Linked DNA regions of Homo sapiens: all the other regions are linked to region 3. Evidence: promoter capture Hi-C in human tissues and cell types (Jung and others, 2019). All regions are on one chromosome and are shown on one strand. Each heading gives the region's core, a stretch centred on a gene start or on the middle of the fragment in contact. The rest is flanking DNA. Distances are from core to core; before and after follow the strand shown. Region 1 overlaps KNTC1 (kinetochore associated 1). Region 2 overlaps PITPNM2 (phosphatidylinositol transfer protein membrane associated 2). Region 3 holds the start of HIP1R (huntingtin interacting protein 1 related).

Evidence for each region. The method cuts DNA at HindIII sites, captures the fragments that hold promoters and counts their contacts. A contact is called where the count stands out against the background at its distance.
Region 1: a fragment that was not itself captured here is called in contact with the fragment with the promoter of HIP1R in region 3 in 2 of the 25 tissues and cell types used here (IMR-90 fibroblasts and lymphoblastoid cells).
Region 2: a fragment that was not itself captured here is called in contact with the fragment with the promoter of HIP1R in region 3 in 3 of the 25 tissues and cell types used here (H1 embryonic stem cells, dorsolateral prefrontal cortex and liver).

The regions. Positions count from the first base shown.
Region 1 is chr12:122,622,511-122,625,210 of GRCh38, reverse strand. KNTC1 (kinetochore associated 1) reads right to left here. Exons shown (of 64, transcript NM_014708.6): 62 at 2,604-2,700; 63 at 523-613. Among named protein-coding and RNA genes, the nearest start is that of MIR9902-1, 72 kb to the left of the region's middle. The HindIII fragment of the contact is 3,781 bases long and covers 1-2,700 here.
Region 2 is chr12:123,060,095-123,062,794 of GRCh38, reverse strand. The region is part of intron 2 of PITPNM2 (phosphatidylinositol transfer protein membrane associated 2); the gene reads left to right. Among named protein-coding and RNA genes, the nearest start is that of PITPNM2-AS1, 20 kb to the left of the region's middle. The HindIII fragment of the contact is 7,256 bases long and covers 1-2,700 here.
Region 3 is chr12:122,834,078-122,836,777 of GRCh38, reverse strand. HIP1R (huntingtin interacting protein 1 related) reads right to left here and starts at 1,321. Exons shown (of 32, transcript NM_003959.3): 1 at 1,135-1,321. The coding sequence starts at 1,227. It overlaps LOC124903040 (a long non-coding RNA gene), which reads left to right and starts at 1,545. Exons shown (of 2, transcript XR_007063501.1): 1 at 1,545-1,604; 2 at 1,940-2,223. RefSeq lists silencers at 810-1,009, 1,180-1,419 and an enhancer at 1,670-1,719. The HindIII fragment of the contact is 9,768 bases long and covers 1-2,700 here.

The DNA of each region.
Region 1 (2,700 bases), core at 61-2,560, 210 kb after region 3:
GGCTGGTCTTGAACTCCTGGCCTCAGGTAATCTGCCCCTTGGCCTCCCAAAGTGCTGGGATTACAGGTGTGAGCCACCGTGCCCAGCCATACTTCTTTTTTTTCTGCAGTGAATATACGTTTTAGGTAATTAAAGAATAATAATTAATTTAAAAAGCAATTAATACCCAAGCATGACAATAATCAACACCTTTTAGAATTCAGTTTTTCACCTGCTTCAATATTAAAAACACCACCTTATGAGGAATGGTAATGCTGGAAAGCACCTGAGAGACCATGGGGTCCAGATCTGAAGACTAAGCCCACATTAGGCTTTGCTGCCCAGTGGCAGGGCTGAGATTAGAACTGTGGTCTCTTGATTTCTAGTTTAGAACTCTCTAACACAAAAAGTAAAATATAAAAATTACAGTTACACATAAAAATACATTTATCTCCAGAACACTAGAAAAGGCTTGTCAATTTTAAGGCCCTAGGAATATAAACAATGTCAAGTTAGAACCTAAGAACTTTCCATCAGCTTTACCTTCAGAATTTCACAGGGAGCAGTGTCTGGAGGCACAGGTTTCCCGCAGTGCTTTGAATATTCAGTTATCAAGACTGAAGCTTCATCTAAACTACAAAATCAAAAAGAAAAAGAAGTGTTAGGCCAAGCACAGTGCCTTGTGCCTACAATCCCGGCACTCAGGGAGGCCAAGATGTACAGATGGCTTGGGTCCAGGAGTTTGAGACTAGCCTGGGCAACATGGCAAAGCCCTGTCTCTACAAAAAATATAAAATTAGCCAGGTGTGGTGTTGCACACTTGTAGTCCCAGCTACTCTGGAGACTGAGGTAGGAGGATCGCTTGAACCCAGGAGGTTGGGGCAGCAGTGAGCCACGTTTGTACCACTGCACTCCAGCCTGGGTGACAAAGCAAGACCCTATTTCAAAAAGAAAAGAAAAGAAAAGAAAAAGAGGCATTGAAGTCAAAATTAAAATGTAAAGACCAATCTCTGAATTTAATGTTTTATTTGGGAAGAAATAATTCCAATTTGGGGCATATACATAGACTGGGTAGTCTCTGGATTGTCCAAAGAACAAAGAGAAGGTTAGAGGTTTTATGAAAAAGAGACATGTTACACATTGTTCTTTTTTTTCTTTTTTGTGAGACAGAGTTTCACTCTTGTTGCACAGGCTGGAGTGCAATGGTGCGATCTCGGCTCACTGCAACCTCCACCTCCTGGGTTCAAGCGATTCTCCTGCCTTAGCCTCCCGAGTAGCTGGGATTACAGGCATGCGCCACCATGCTCGGCTAACTTTTTGTATTTTTAGTAGAGACAGGGTTTCATCATGTTGGCCAGGCTGGTCTTGAACTCCTAACCTCAGGTGATCCACCCGCCTCGGCCTCCCAAAGTGCTGGGATTACAGGAGTAAGCCACTGCGCCCGGCCAGAATTATGTTTTTGGAGCAATGTTTTGTACTCTGAGTGCTTTTCCCCTGGGCCCCTCGACTCTGATGAATTTGGGTATCACAAGAATGACCTAATTCATGTAATCAACTTCACAGAGGGCATGAGGAAACTTTCAGAGAATTATGTTCACTCTCTTGATTGTGGTGATGGCTTTATAGGTATACATATGTCAAAATTTACTAAATTGCAGACTTCAAGTATGTCCAGCTTATTATATGTATCAATTATAACTCAAAAAATACTTGCTCAAAAATGACAATATCTAATTATGGCTGGATCACAAGAGATAAACAAGCAGATGGAAATCCATGGAGTGGTAATGAGAAAGAAAGACCTCTCAAGCGCCAACATGGCTAGACCACATGCAGGGATGGATCTGGTGTGTACTGCGGTCTTGAACTTCCCTTTCTTTAGTGTCAGCCCACTTCTTCCTTCTCCCGTTCAGTTTCCATATCCACCCCCAGCTCTATCCCAAGAAGCTTATTGTTTCTAAACTTGTGGGTGCTGGAAAATTAGATAACCAGGTTTAACAAAAGTGATGCTACATAAAGTCATTAATGTTCTGAGCAAGTGTCTAGACATAAAATTGTAATGTAGGATTTAGAACAGGGCTGTGAGACACTTGATTTGGGGGTTCAGATGACCTGTTTAATTGTCAGATTCTAAGGTCATATTCCAAGAAATTGGGTTATTAAATGATTAACTTTTGGATATGTGCAGTAATGAGAGATGTAATATTTTGAGCTTTTAATTACAACCAAATAGCTCTACAGTTGACATTCTGCTCCAACATAAAGATAGATTTTTTTTTTTTTGAGACAGAGTTTCGCTCCTGTTGCCCAGGCTGGAGTGCAATGGTGCGATCTCGGCTCACTGCAACCTCTGCCTCCCGGGTTGAAGAGATTCTCCTGCCTTATCCTCCCTAGTAGCTGGGATTACAGGTATGTGCCACCATGCCCGGCTAATTTTGTATTTTTAGTAGAGACAGGGTTTCTCCATGTTGGTCAGGCTGGTTTTGAACTCTCAACCTCAGGTGATCCACCCACCTCAGCTTCCCAAAGTGCTAGGATTACAGTCGTGAGCCATCGTGCCCAGCTTATAAAGATAGATTTTAAGGAAATTCCACAGTAAGTTTTTTTTTTTTTAATTAACTTACCTTAAGTCATTTGCCAAATAGTTCACTAGCTCAGTGATATTGTTGGTATTCATCGCATGCATCTTCAACATTTGAAAGTATTTGGTCTTTGCCAAAA
Region 2 (2,700 bases), core at 33-2,532, 230 kb before region 3:
CCAAAATCCAGCACACTGAAAACCAGACACTTTTTTGTAACTCATTTGGCAGCAAAATTTTTCCTGAACTGAGGTGAGGCTATTTATAGTCCAAGTGAGGCTATTTATAGTCTTTATGTATTCTATATTCATGTCTTTCACTGCAGAGAGTTCAATGTATTTGTTTATTGGATGCTGCTGAGATATGCAGCTTTACCTGTCTAAAGTTCAGGATATTCTGAAATCCTAGATACATCTAGCCCCAAGAGCAAGAGTGCTGTACTTTTTTTTGCTGGTAAATAGCCTCTGCCCCTGCCCCGTCCCCCTTATTGTCCCTTCCCTGGGATTTCTGGAGCTAAGTGGGCAATGCTGTCCACAGGCACCTCCAGGATTCCCCCAGCCCCACAGCCAGCAGCAGTGCCCAGGGGTTAGATATTTTTAGTATTCCTGTGGGTGACAGAACACATCTTGGTTGCCAGGCATAGTGTTCTACCCCCTCACTGGACGTATTACCACCTCCCTTTACAGATGAGTAAACCAAGGCTCAGTTGCAAGTATCAGATCTAAGGACGGAGAGATGAGAAGTGCAGGCGCTGGACCCCAAACTTTCCCTTCCACCTGGCTGCCTGTCTGGGAGGGAGTCTGGGGACTCAGGAACCTGTCTCCCTGGATTTGTTGAAATGGGAAGCAGCAAGCATCAGGGTCCCAGGTGCACCGGAGGGGAGCAGACAGATGCAAGCCAGGCTGCTCTACTTGGCAGGGAGAAGGAGGAGGAGGAGCAGGGGCCCCTCAGTTGCTGCAGGGCCTCCCTAGGAACTTACCGCCTACCTCTACACCGTAGTTCCTGCTTCTCAGAGTCCCTTTGTTAGAACACCTGTGCCTTCCTCCGCACCCAACTCCATCTCTTCCCAGCAGCCAGCCCTCATAGCTGCTCCGGCTCTTGGGTCTTTCCTCCAGAACTCTCTGAAGCCACTGGCACATAGGGAGATGGCATAACTTTGTCCAAACTCTGTCGGCAGCTGTTCTTGGGGACCCTGCTAGCAGCCACCTTCTCCTACAACCTTCAGAAGCTCCCTTGGATGCAGGAGCTTTGTCAGGGCCTGAAAGCCCCAGGCTTCCCCCTTTTTCTGACTCCCCAGTGTACAAGTTCTTTCCCATTTCCTGTGAGACGCATCATCTTGTGATGACCAATGACTCCCACCATCCACCACATTGACCCTGGCTCAGAAGCCTTTGGTCTGAGAAGCTTCTTGCCCACTGGGACGCCTCCTATCCACCCTGCCCAAGCCATGCCTGACGTGCCATAGTGCAGTGAGAGGGCCTACTCTTGGACAGTGGAGAGATCTGGGACAGGGTTATGGCTGTAGTGGTTAACCATCCTTGGATTGTAGGCACGTCAGCAGACCTCTCCAGAGCTTGTTTCCTGTTTCCTCATCTGCAGAGTGGGCTTAGGGTTGGCTGCCCTCACAGAGCTGTTGATGAGGATTGGCCTTAGGGCAGGCATCCTGCATAGACCGTGCCTTGTCATGAGCCCTGTTACCCTTCCCCCATTCCACTAGCAGGGTCTTTCTTCCTGTATACCCATTAAGGGGTCAGAAAGTTTCCCAGAGCTGCCGTGAGTGTAAAGAAGTCAACTGTGACCCGTTGTGAAGACCTTTGGGTTTAGAGGCAGAGGCTCTGGGCTCTAGTCCCACCCCTGCCCTATGTAGATGATGGATGGATGCATGGGTGGATGGATGCATGGGTGGATGAATGCATGGGTGGATGGATCAGTGGATGCATGCATGAGTGAATGGCGCGGTAGCTACATGGGTAGATGGATAGGTGGATGCATGGGTGAAGGGATGCATGGGTAGATGCGAGTAGGGATGCATAGGTGGAAGGATGAGTAGATCAACTGTCTGCCCTTTTCTGGGCCTTAATTTTTCCATCTACCCAATGATAGGGTTGGATTGCAAGTTCTTCAGTTTCTGAGGTTTGTGACCCCACCTATGTCAACCTGGCACCCTTAAGGACTGCTGCCCCCTTAGGTGGTGACCTATAAGGAGGACCGTGCCTATACCCAGGGACCCTGGAACCCTCTCTGAGCTCCACCTTCCACCCTGCCTTGGGCCTTCCCAGCTCTGACTTGGTACCCTCCTTGCAGCCTCTGCGCTCCTCATCCCTTTCCAATAGGAGTGCAGTTTTCTTCTGGCTCTTTTGTTGACAGAATCGCTTGTTTATTTGTGGTGGGAGAGTCTGTATATCCTGTGTGCAGTCACTTCCCTCCAGGCCACTCTGCATTCATGCAGGATGAGCTGCTGAGTGAGCATTGGGTGGAAGTGTCAGGCGCTGGGGGCTTGGCAGAGGGACTGTCACAGGGTCAGGGTGGCTTTACTGCCAAGGTGGCTCTTGAGTTAGGTCAGGAGCTAGGTCAACTTAGTAGGTCAGAATTTCCCGGTGGAGGTGGAGACCCAGGTGATGGCACCCAGACGGGCTGGGTCCTCACGGGTGAGGGTGTCAGTTCACCAGCCTGTGCAAAGACTTCCAGTGCCAAGGCAAGGAGCTCAGGGTGCTTTGGTGAATGAAGGTGAATTCTTGAAGGGTTTTAACCAGGAGGTGACCCAGTCAAGTTCCTTCTCCTGCAGTATGCTGGAGCATCTTTGGTTAAAAATAAAAAAATAAAGGTCAACATGGAAAACTCACCCTCGATTTGTGCTCTGAGCCCTTGGGGCCTGGGGG
Region 3 (2,700 bases), core at 72-2,571:
TAGATGTGAAGGCAACCGCAGAAGTCATAGCTCTCTGCAAGGACAAGTGGGACGGAACTTGCAAATAGCCGCCACAAACGCAAATGTCACCAACCTGCTTTAGACAGGAGTGGGAGGGGTCCTCTGGCTTCCTTTATCTCTAGAGTAAAATTTTTCAGCCATTTCAGTCTTGGTTGACTTATTTTGGCAAATAAACAAGTATGCCCCCCTCCACCGCCCATCCCCCAAGCCTGAGAGCACTTCAAGAGTTTGTAAAATAAAAAGCAACAGGAAACCAGAAACGCAGCAACGTCTGCATCGTGGGTCCCCGGCACAAACACAAGTACAAAACGCACACCCGCGCCCTTATTTCATTTCTAACGCCTTCCCAGGATAGGCATCATCTGGAAGAGTTACAAGCGTGGGAGGCGCAGGAAGGGAGCCCCAGGAAGTTTCTGTCTGTCGGGCGCCGGTATTTAATGAGGGGGTGTGCACCTATTTATACGTGGGCAGCGCTCGGGCAAACAAGTCTGGCGACATACGAGAAGCTTTTCACCCAGCAAATAATAGGAGACTGTGCAGCCCTGGGAAACCGCTCACGAGAGAAGGAAGCTGGGAGTTTAAGGAATTTCCTTTAAGGAAATTGCCCGTGGGGGCATCGGTTTCAGGGGGTAGGAGACGGGGGCAGGAGCCGGCAAGGAGCGGCACGGAAGGTCGGGGACCCCAGTCGGGCCGCGCCGGCCCCGGGAGCACCTGGATCCCCAGCCCCCTCGACCCCCGGCGCGCTGGGCTCGCGCACACCCAACCCCGGCCCCATCTCCGTCCCCCGCCGCCTCAGCTCCGGCGCTCCCGGCCCGCGCACACCCTGACCCCGGCCCCCTCAGCCCCGGCGCCTCTGGGCCCGAGCGCCCGGCGGGAGCGGGGAGCGCGGCTTCCGGTTCACCTGCGCGCCGGTCGGCTCGGGCCGCGGAGGCCGGCGGGGGGCGGCAGCGGAGCTCTCGGAGAGCCCGGGCGGACACAGGCCCTGCCCCCGCGCCGTCCCCCGCCCCTGGCCGGCGCCTCCCGGGCCCCAGCCGTTCGCGCGTGAGGGGTCAGGGACGCCGCTTGCCCGCCCGCCCGCCGCCGCCCGCCGCCCGCCGCCCGCCGCCCGCTCGCCTGGGTCTTGTCGAACTGCTCGCGCTCGGCCTCCAGGCTGTGGCCCGGCCTGCGGCTCAGCACCCGCGCCGGCACGTTCTTGATGCTGTTCATCCTGCCGCCGCCGCCCGCTTTTGTCCGGCTCCGTCCGCGCGACTCACAGCCTCACGGTCCGGCAGCCCCAGCCTAGGCACCGCGAGGCCACCGCGCCGCGCCCGGGCCCGCCCGCCGGGGAGGAGCCCGCCTCGCCCCGCCCCCAACTCCAGGGCACGCCCCTCCCCCGCACACCTCCAAACCCGCCCCCCGCGCCCGCAAACGCCTCGCCCGCCCCCAACTCCAGGGCGCGCCCCTCCACCCGCACACCTCCAACCCCACCCCCCGCGATCTCGGGACACGCGCCTCTCCCCGCACATCCCCAACCCCCCATCCCGCGGCGACCCCGGCACACGCCCCGCCCCCCGCACACCTCCAACCCCCACCTCACTCACAAGGTTGGGGCACAGGCCAAACGCCCCCCCAGCTCCTCCCCACCTCTAATCCCCTCCCTAAACCCGGAGGGGAGGGTAGGGGAAGGGGGAGGGGGAACCCCTCCCTCCTCCTTCCACCCAGGGTAGGGACCCCAGCCAATTCCCTCTCCCCACCCCTCCTCCGAACTCACTAAGTCTTGTCTGCACCAGGGCAAGATCTGGTTAATTGGAGAAAATCTGGCCTCCATGAGTCTGGTCGGTGGCAGCACAGATAGACGCTTTTTTTCCTTTTTGGTCTTAATGTATGTGTCAAAAGGCACACAATGACACTCTCCCCTCTTTGTGCAATTCTGACATAGCTGCAGCTGTTATCCATGCGGGGATGCAGGATGCATTTCCAGAGACGCCGCCGGCTCCGCAACCGGACACCTCGCCAGCTCCAGGGACAATGGGGGCTGAGGCCGGGCGCTGTTAGGCTGGCACAGAAGGCAGGCGGATCTGAACAGCAAAGTACACCGAGGAGATGCCGCCAGGGGTGGCGTGAGGCTTTTTAAAAACATTATTATTGGCTTTCCCTTAAAATTACTGGTCACAAGACTGAAGTAAAAAAATAAATAAAAGCCCAGAGTCCTCTCTAAGCGTAGCTCTCAGATGGGTATTGTGTTTCTGCTGTTTCCCTTTCCTATCGGAATGCAGATGTGGAATCATGCATAAAGGTCCCTTGCTTTTGAAGGGAGAGGCACCGCCTGCCTGTAAGGAGGAAAATGACGCCCACGTAATCCTGACCCTTGTCTCCCTAGTGAGACTGTAACCTGTCTGAGGTCAGAGACCCTTTCCTTTCCTTTCCTTTCCTTTCCTTTCCCTTTCCCTTTCCTTTCCTTCCTCCTTCTTTTCTTTCTTTTCTCTCTTTCTCTCTCTTCTTTCTTTCTCTTTCTTTCTTTCTTTTCTTTTCTTCTCTTTCTTTCTTTTCTTTTTTTTTAACCGAGCTTCACTCTTGTTGCCTAGGCTGGAGTGCAATGGCACAATCTCACCTCACCGCAACCTCCGCCTCCTGGGTTCAAGCAATTCTCCTGCCTCAGCCTCCCAAATAGCTGGAATTACAGGCATGTGCCACCACGCC